Linked DNA regions of Homo sapiens: all the other regions are linked to region 2. Evidence: promoter capture Hi-C in human tissues and cell types (Jung and others, 2019). All regions are on one chromosome and are shown on one strand. The core of a region is centred on a gene start or on the middle of the fragment in contact, and the rest is flanking DNA. Distances in the headings are between cores, read along the strand shown.

Region 1 (3,132 bases), core at 468-2,967, 180 kb after region 2:
CAGCTGCCTGACAGCTAAAATCATATTTGCTGTCAGAGGTGACAGGGGCCACAATAGTGATGTATTAAACTGCTGCAGAGTATCAGGGGAGCAGGCTGAGCAGGCTTCTCTCGCTCCTCTGCTGTCACCTTCCTCCTCTGGCATCTGGCCTGAGCTAGTGTGCCCAGGGTGCCCATGGACCAGAACAGGGCTGGATGGTCAAGGCATGTTTTGTGTCAGGGCACCACAAATGAGATGCAACCTCATCCAAGTCATTGAAAGCATGGCCAGATTCCATATGAATCTCTTAATAGGCTTAAGATATTGGCTGGATCCTACCCCTTAATTGCACCGTGTGACGAAGTGCAAAAATCCATCATTGTAATTACTTTCACTGGATTCCAGAGCATTTTGACTATATTCAAATGGATATGTAAACCCACAGATAAGCTTAATTTTCTCCAAATGATGGATTATTTCTTGTCATTTTCCCTATCTCCATCCCCCAACCCCTAGCGATGTCTATTTTTTCATTTTCAGAGACCAAAGTAAAGTGTCTCTTGACAAGTGATACCCACAGCTATTTTACTTCCCTGCTCACTAAACAGGAACATGGTATCCTTTGATCTTTCCAGCCCATTATAAGCTGGTCTCTGTGTAGTCTTTCCTCTGTGTCTGTCTAAATTTCTCTTCTCTCATTTTCCTGGATTCCTACCATATTCACGCATCCTGTAGGACTGCATCTGGCTCCTGAAGCATAGTTGTTGGAAACCTAGTGTGTTAGTCCATTTTGTGCTGCCATAAGGGAATACCTGAGGCTGGGTAATTTATAAATAGATTTATTTCGTTCACAGTTCTGCAGGTTGTACAAGCATGGCACCAGCATCTTCTCAGCTTCTGGTGAGGCCTCAGGAAGCTGTTACTCATGGTGGGAAGGCAAACGGGGAGCAGGTGGGTCATATGACAAAGAGAGGTAGCAAGAGAAAAGAAGGGAAGGAGGTGCCAGACTGTTTAACCATCAGATCTCGTAGTAACGAACAGAGCAAGAACTCACTCATTACTGCAAGGATGGTGTGAAGCCATTCATGAGGGATCTACCACCATGACCTAAACACCTCCCACTAGGCCCCACCGCCAACATTGGGGATCAATATTTTACATGAGATTTGGAGGGACAAATATCCAAACTATATCACCCAGCCCTCTATCAGTAACAGCTACCTCTTCCTGAGCCCTTATTATGGGCCAGCCATCTTGGTATGCACTTGATCCCCATCTTCAGATCACCCAGGGTGGAAGCAGGAGAATCAGAGTTTGAACTGAAGCCTGCCCCACCTCCAAAACTCATGCCTGCACCTCCCTGCCTTTGTTTTGAACAATGGGTATGTTAAGACATTCAGCCATGCATCCCACAGGGCTCTGCACTCAGAAAGGACTCATGTTTGGGAGTTGATGATCTGCGGTTGCCAAGTCTTGAAATTCTTAATTGTTTTGTCTTGGAATTTGTCCAGTGGAATAATGGAGCACATGCTGGGGACTTGGAGCCTCAGTCCAGCACAAGACCACTTCCCATGGCCTCTCTGCCTCTCCTGGACTGGTTCTTACTGCACATTCCCCAGTCCCCTAGCATCTCAGGCCCTGCCCAGCCTCCTGCTCCCTTTCCCTCTCCCCTCCTCTCAACCACTGCCAGCCATCATCTGGGTGTTTCCTCTGGCAGGGCCTAAGTGTGGGTGCAGAGAGGGCAGAAAGCAGGTGTGTGCCCTGCAGCATCTGGGGTAGCAGCCATCCTCATCGTGGCTGGAAGGGCCACCTGCATTTGGCAGATGGCTCAGCTGGGACCTCTCATTCAACTCCAGTTCAGATACTGAGCATGTCCAAGGGCAGAAATTGCAGTCCTTTGGAGACTGCCTATTTCCAGTGGGTGAAGAGCCAGACCTATGGGAAGGGGAAACTGAATTCCCCACCCCTGGCCAGGGCCCCACATTTTCATCCTGCCATGGGCCCAGCTAATGATGAACCTGGCTCTGCTTAGGTCCAAAGGTTTGTGAGGACAAGTCATAGGAATTAGAACATGGTGATTCAGGGTATGCAGTGAGGATTCTCTTAGGGGAAGGGACTCCAATGCTTCAACCTCACTTAGCTGAATACTTTTTAGAAGACAGTAGAAGTCATATTTTCTATTTGAAGAAAAAAAGATATAAATCAGTAGAAAAAAGAACTTTCTCTATAGACATCACAAACCAGAGAAGTGAAACAATGGTAGTGAACAGATGGGAAAGGGAGAGGTATTAGGCATCAATTTCAAGACACTGAGTTTTGTCCTTTTGATTTGTTAGTTTCTGTAAAACAAGCCCAAGGAGGTCACTATATGTCAGCCTCTGGCCCAGCACAGAATGATCCTGAAATATTTACAGAGGTGGTGCCCTGGTGCCCCATTCAAGGTCAAGTTCACATGTAGCATCCTGCCTGATGTCCTGTAGCTCCAAGTGTTGTGGATGTACAGAGCATCGGGGCTAGAAGGAAAGGGACATGTCCAAACTTTGATTTTGCCCAGAAGAAAACTGAGGCCCAGAGAGCTGTCCCTTACCTACCCACTCAGTGAGGACTGACACCAAAGGTCTCATGGCTCTTTACCTGAATGAATGGTGTAAGAGCTCACAGAGTATTTAATAAGTCCTAGGTGTAGAACTGAGCACTTCATACACATTAGCTCATTTGAGCCTCACAAAAACTCTACAAGGAAGGTATTTCTGGTGAGTCTCATCAAAGGTACATTTGACTTGTACACATCCAACTATGTGTTACCTTCCTGGAGGTTGCCATACAAGATAACCACAACCTGTGTGGTTTAAACATCAGAAACTTATTGTCTCACAGTTCTGAGGCTTGACAAAGTCAAGGTGTCAGCAGGATTGATTTTTCTGAGGGCTGTGAGAGAGAATGTGTTATATCTTATCTCCTAGCTTTTGGTAGCCTCAGGTGTTCCTTAGCTTGTATATGGCCTCTTCTTGTGTCTTCATCTCACCCTCCCACTGTACATGTCTCTGTGTTTAAATTTTCTCTCTCTCTCTCTTTATTTATTTTTTTGAGAAAGAGTCTCGCATTGTTGCCAAATTTTCTCTCTTTTTTTGAGAGAAGTCCTTACCCTGTTAC
Region 2 (2,861 bases), core at 238-2,737:
TGAGTTTACTCCACGGTTTTGGATTCCGGAGCAGGTCGGAGAGAGTCCCCTGAGACCGGCACAGCACCCTCTGCGCAAAGATCGCCTGGGGGATACTGTAGCGCTTCAGCTCCGCTGTGATGCGCTGGGCCACCTCTTTGGTGTTGATTTCTTCCAGCTGGCCCGACGTGGCCACCTGCGAGCCCGATGAGGACGAGGGTGGCCGCTCGCGACTGGGTGCCAGCACCGGCCCGTGAGACTGAGTGTGGCCCGGGTGGTGCAGGCCGTTCAGGTGCGACATCATGGCCGCAGGTGGGGTGCCCAGGCCGCGGGACAGGTGTTGCTCACCGCGGGTCAGCATGGCAGTGTGGTGCGCGTCGAAGTTGGGGCTGAGCATTTTGTCGTGGCCCGGCGGACCGTAGTTGGGCAGACTCTGCTGCGCGTTGTGGAGGCCGCCTAGCCCGTTGCCCAGCGGCGTGGCGGCCAGCGGGGACAGGCTCTGGCTCATGCCGGGCATCTCCTTGTAGGGACTGTAGAGGTTGTTCATGGCCGGGAGCCCGCGCTCGTCGCGCATGAGGGTGAAGCTGCCGCTGACGTTGCCGGACAGGCGCTGGTGGTGGTGGTGGTGGTGGTGGTGCGGATGGTGGTGCGGGTGAGGGTGGTGGAACTTGTCAGACACGGTGGAGATGGGTGGCAGCGGCTGGAGCGGTGTCAGCGTGGTGTAGGTGTTGCTCATGCCCATGCCAGGCGGAGACGAGTCGCAGGACATGCTCATGGCGTGGTGCAGCGGGATGGAGAGCTCGGGCCGGTAGTCGCCGCCGTCCAGGATCGAGGCCATGCTGGTGACCATGGCCGAGCGCGACGCCGCCGCTGCCGCCGCTGCCGCCGTGCCCAGCTCCTGGTGCGCGGTTGGAGGCGGCGGAGGGCCCCGCAGCGAGCCAGCGGCGCCGCGGCCCGCGTGGTGGGGGCTGGGGCTGGCCAGCAGCTCCTGCTCATGGCCCGGGCCCCCGCCGCCGCCCCCGCCGCCCCCGCCGCCGCCCCCGCCACTGCCGCCGCCGGCCGGCCCGTGCAAAGTGCCCAGACTTTCCATTGTCAGCTCCGGGTTCATGGCGCAGCCTTCTAGGTCTTTGGTGAGGCATCGATAGGCGGTGTAGGCAGCCTTCATTCAGTCCATCAGGGCCCGGGGGCGGCGGGGGCGGCGGGGGCGGCCGGCGGGCGGGCAAGGCGCGCGTGGCGGGGCTCGGCTGCGGGAGTGGGGGCGGGCGCGGGAGTGAGTGGAGAGGAGTGCGCGTGCGGGTGTGCGCCCCGGGCTGCGGGCGGGCTCGCCCGGGGTGGGGGCGGGGTGGGGGCGGACGGGGCGTGCGTGCGGGAGAGGGGAGGGGACGGGGAGGGAGGGAGGGATCACCGGGCCCCGCCGCTCGGGCCGGCTCGCAGCCTCGCCATGTCCGAGCCCGCTCCGGCGCCGACGTCTTCTGTTTGGGTGAGCGGGAGCTGTCCAGAAGGGCTCTGCCGCTCGCCGGGGCAGCCAACCTACCCTCCCGGACCTGGGGCGGGGCCACGCCCGACGGGCGCCAAGCGCAACCACTCCGAGGCCGCAGCTGCCCCGGGAGGCGGGCCTTCCACGGGAAGCTACCAGTGGCTGTGGAGGGGGCGGGGCCGCACTTTTCAGGTTTGGCTGACGGCTCGGTGCCTTTTTTACCTCCTTTGCTACTGGAATCAAACGTCAAGGAGAGGGAGGGAGGAGAAGGTGGGGGGGTCGCTGGGGAGAGGGAGGCTGGAGTGCGAGCGAGCGAGAGAGATTCGGTGAAAGATGCCGTGCTGTGTCCCCCCTGAGCAGCTGCGATCTGGGGGAAGGGGCATTGCTTCAATCGCCTTCGCCTCACCCCAAAGCTTTCCTGGAGGCGAGTAAGCCGGGAGCAAAAGACTCCGCTATGTGCCAGTATAGACAAACACTCGTCACTAACAAGCCACTTACCGAGAGTCCCTAGCTGGGAGCCAATAGTTTAGCCTTTTAAAATGCAGGCGCTAATGTATTCTAATGCATGGTAAATTCCCGAGGCCGGGACATGCATAATCTACGCGGTCAGAGCAACTGTAGTGCCCTCGTCGCCAGCGAGCTGCGGCCGGCCGGCGGCCCACGGGCGGCGCGGGCAGCAGTAATGCATGCAAAGTTAACACAATAACATCATTTAATTACCCGGTGAGCCCATAAATCTCAGTTATGAGGCTTCCGAAGAGCCCTGCTAGATTGCAAAACAAAACTAGAATTCCGGGAGCTGCCGTTTCAAGGTGACCAAGTGCTTTCTGCATCAGCGACTTGGAAAGAAGTGGGGAGAGTGTAGAACCGGTGAGGTGGAGGTGAGGAGGGTCGCTGGTGTCCCAAGTGAGCAAACTTCTCCTGGGGGCAGAGAGTAAGCAAACCAGCTGAGACGGCAACCACGGACCTTTCTCCTAACACGAGACACACACACGCGCACACACACACACACACACACACACACACACTCCCGCTTCTCTCAAATCCCGGGAGAGAAACGGCGGTGGGCAGACGACAAGGAATCCTGGCTGACACCTGCATATTCAAACCTTGTTTCTGAAAAGACCAGCGCCCCGGCCAGCCTGAGAACGCTCACAAGCCAAGGCTTTAAAAACCGCACCTACGTCTTCCTAGAATTTCCGTTGTTTGGCAACCCCAGGTCTGGAGGTGGGAGTGGAACTGGGGGACAGAGAGTTGGAGATTTCTGCAGTCCGAGTCGGGGTGGAGGGGTAGTTGAAGACAGAGAGGCCAACACCCGGCATAAAGCCTTAAACGTAACAAGATTCTTCCAAAGCAGGTTGCGCTCTGTTTGCCTCCGAAGATTCAAGCTAGCTGAGGTTGCGCA
Region 3 (3,178 bases), core at 587-3,086, 160 kb after region 2:
AGGTGAGGGGTTATGAAGTTTTATTCATGCTTTGGAAAAGCAACTCTGTTGGTACAAAGAGGTGAAAGAATAGCAGTGAGGTCTCCGGGGTGGTGAACATTTGGTGCTAATTGCCCAGAACACTCCTTCTCACCTGGCCACAGGACTCCTTCTTGAGCAGAACCTGTTCCTTTTTGTCCAAACAGCCATGCCTCTGGCCCAGTGATTAGTGCAGAGCTGGGAGTTTACCTCCAGCTAAGCCAATGAGAAACTTCCCCAGGACTTTTCTGCCAGAGCTATGTCAATCCCTATTTCCAATGGGATTGTTCAGCTATGGGGTTGTGAATTTGGAGCTACCAGCAATCATCTTGCATAGCATGAGGTCAGACAGCAATATGCAGAGCTGAGAGATGGAGAAATTGAGCCCTGATAATATCATTTGCCATTCCTGATCCAGTTGTGCCTGAAACCTCCACATGTCTCCATTATGCAGCTTGGTAATTTCCTCTCTTTAGCTTGAGTCACTTGCAGATGGAGTTTTGTCCCATGTAACCATGGTAGTACAATCAATCAATCAGGAGGCTATTTCAAAAGTCCCCATGACTGCTACAGCTTGACAGCAAGATAAAAAAGACTTTGAAATCTACTGCAGAGGCACCTTATTGGATATTTAACCAAGGAGCTCCATCTTAACCAAAAGTCTTAGTAAACTTAAAGGTATTTTTGTTGACAGTATATTTTCATTTTGCCTAATAAATGAAGTGCCAGGGACCTAGTGTACATGTGGTGTGATGAGATGGGAAGGGCTAACTTTTGCAGGTGGTCATTTTTATTCCTGCAATTCCTTTACTTACCCCTCACCATTTCCATCCCTATCTTTTTTTAGATTTATTCTTCTAAGAGCTCAGCTTCTGATATGAGCCACCTGTTTCCCCATTGTTCACCCCAAGAAGGAGGTGGAAACTTTAGGTTGGAGGAGGGAAGAAGAAATTGATGAGAAAGAAGACAGGGAGTTAGGCTCAGGGCAGGGCACCTGACTCTTCCTTCTTCTTGAAACTCCTTTTAAAATTTGGAAATCTGAGAGTGGAGAGGACTCGTGTGACTAACTTCCAAGACAACATCTGGGGACCCTGCAAGGGTCATAGACAAGTTCCCCAAACCATCAGGGTGGGAGAAGGTATGTGGAGAGGAGGACATCGGCTTAAACTCTGGGTTCTCTGTGGGAGAATGAGAGCTGGCCAGCCTGCAAAGGATCTTCCTGTGGCCAGAACCAGGGAGGATGAGCCACCCATGATAGCTGCAAAGGCTGAGAGAGAGGCAGAGAGAGAGAGAGAGAAAGAGAGAGAGAGAGAGAGAGAGAGAGAGAGAGAGAGAGAGAGAGAGAGAGAGGCCCTCCACACTCGCTTCTACTGGGACCACAGCAACATTGCACAAGGCCTGCTCCCTCCTTTCCTGGAGTGTAGGATCAACTCCAGGAAGGCACAAGAGAGGGTGGGAAATCCTCAATGGGACTGAGTTTTAAACCTGAAATGGTTTAGATATCACCAAATTCGACAGTATTTTCCCTGAATTAATAAGACTATGTTTCTGGCCATCTGGTAGAAATAAGGTACTGAGAGAGAAATCAAATCCTGTTAGAGGGGAAAAAAGTGATACTTTCTCATACTTGAATTTGTGACTTAGAAAATTTGTACCCGCTACATATACTTTTGGGTACTAATCTTTAGTGTCAAAGTAAAATCTTTAGTTAAAGGAAAAGGGGAAAGGGGTTGGGCCAGCAACACAGTTCACCAGCAAGCTTTCCCCTTCGGTGTGTGTGGCCTTCAGCCAGGCCTCACATGTGTGACCATCTTTACTGTCAGGCTTCTGTCTAGTGGGAGGCCATCCTTCCCTGGCAAGAGGGGGCCAGTCTGCTCGCCAGTGCCTACAGTGTTAGTTCTAAGAGTCAGTCATTTCTGAGGGACCCTGAAGCCTTTGCCTGAAGAGACACCACCCCCATCTCTGATTTTAAAATACAGATTTGCCAGGATTGATTAACTTGTGCAAATAAAACCACTTAGGCAGTTAGGCATTCTTTCAGTTAGAAATGCTCAAATTTAGGCATGCATCAAAATCGCCTGATGAGAAGGAGAGCATGATGGGTGACGGTTGAGAAAATCAGATTCCCAGGCCTGACCCCTGAATATTGATTCTGACATAAGTGATCATTTGTACACACTTTGAGAAACTGTGCTGAGGGTATTGTATGCCATTCAGATTTCCTTAAAAAGCTCCCAGAATGGACAAGTAACTCTTTCAAATTCTCTCTTGCAGATTAGTCCTAGGGGCAAACCAAAGTTTTTAAAGGGGAAAAAATCATGTAAAAGGTAGTTTCTCTAGAAAGTTGACAGCCACTAGAAGAATAAATGTGCCTGGAATAGACATGACATCTTAATCATTGGTACTGAAGAGCTGTAATGCCAGACTATAGAAAGCTTAAATCAAACTGTAGCTCTTTTTCTTTTATTAAAGAAAGAAAGCCCAGGAGTACAATGCCAGAACAAGAACTAATTCTGGAAGCTTGCTGGTATGATATTGTCAGTCACACCAGTGATGTGGATAAAAGCTTTTAGCACATGAATAATTTCAGTGAAAGGGCTTTATCGCTTTTTATTTGCTGGGCATTTACAGGAGAATAAACATGCTGGTATATATTATATATGGAGTGAAAGTCAGCAGCAAATGAAAGCAAAGACCCCCAGACCCAGTTACCAGAACAGACTAGGGTTGCTTAGCAACCGGGCAACTGGAGAATTCTCTCTCCCTTTCTTTCTTTTGTTTTTAGATTGCAGTAACCTTTGATCAATTTTGGCTCTACAACAAAAGCCTTGGATATTTTGAGAGAAATGTACCTGCTTATTTGTAGTAACAAGGACATAGACCGTGACACCAATTTCTGTCTCGTATTTCATGTTAAACAGCAGAACAGCCTCAAATTCCTTTTAAAAATCTTATTGTTGGTGGGCTGGATCTCTGATGAATCAGAAGTTTTATGATAATTGCTTTAAATTACTCTAAAAGATGTTTACTGTCTGTCAGTTGCCCTTGGTTCTTCTGCTCATTGACCAACTTTAGAAGCCTAGGTCTTGGTTCCAAATCCACTTCCTGAGAAGCAGCATCTGAATCCCAAGTCTTAAATCCTCCAGTTAAAGGAGACTTT

What was found. The method cuts DNA at HindIII sites, captures the fragments that hold promoters and counts their contacts. A contact is called where the count stands out against the background at its distance.
Region 1: a fragment that was not itself captured here is called in contact with the fragment with the promoter of ONECUT2 in region 2 in 2 of the 25 tissues and cell types used here (H1 embryonic stem cells and mesendoderm cells).
Region 3: a fragment that was not itself captured here is called in contact with the fragment with the promoter of ONECUT2 in region 2 in 1 of the 25 tissues and cell types used here (liver).

Annotation. Positions count from the first base shown.
Region 1 is chr18:57,255,477-57,258,608 of GRCh38, reverse strand. No RefSeq gene overlaps it. Among named protein-coding and RNA genes, the nearest start is that of LINC02565, 86 kb to the right of the region's middle. The HindIII fragment of the contact is 5,857 bases long and covers 1-3,132 here.
Region 2 is chr18:57,434,000-57,436,860 of GRCh38, reverse strand. ONECUT2 (one cut homeobox 2) reads right to left here and starts at 1,487. Exons shown (of 2, transcript NM_004852.3): 1 at 1-1,487. The coding sequence starts at 1,144. RefSeq lists a silencer at 1,558-1,607 and enhancers at 1,601-2,180, 2,181-2,761. The HindIII fragment of the contact is 18,346 bases long and covers 1-2,861 here.
Region 3 is chr18:57,276,482-57,279,659 of GRCh38, reverse strand. No RefSeq gene overlaps it. Among named protein-coding and RNA genes, the nearest start is that of ST8SIA3, 74 kb to the left of the region's middle. The HindIII fragment of the contact is 4,391 bases long and covers 1-3,178 here.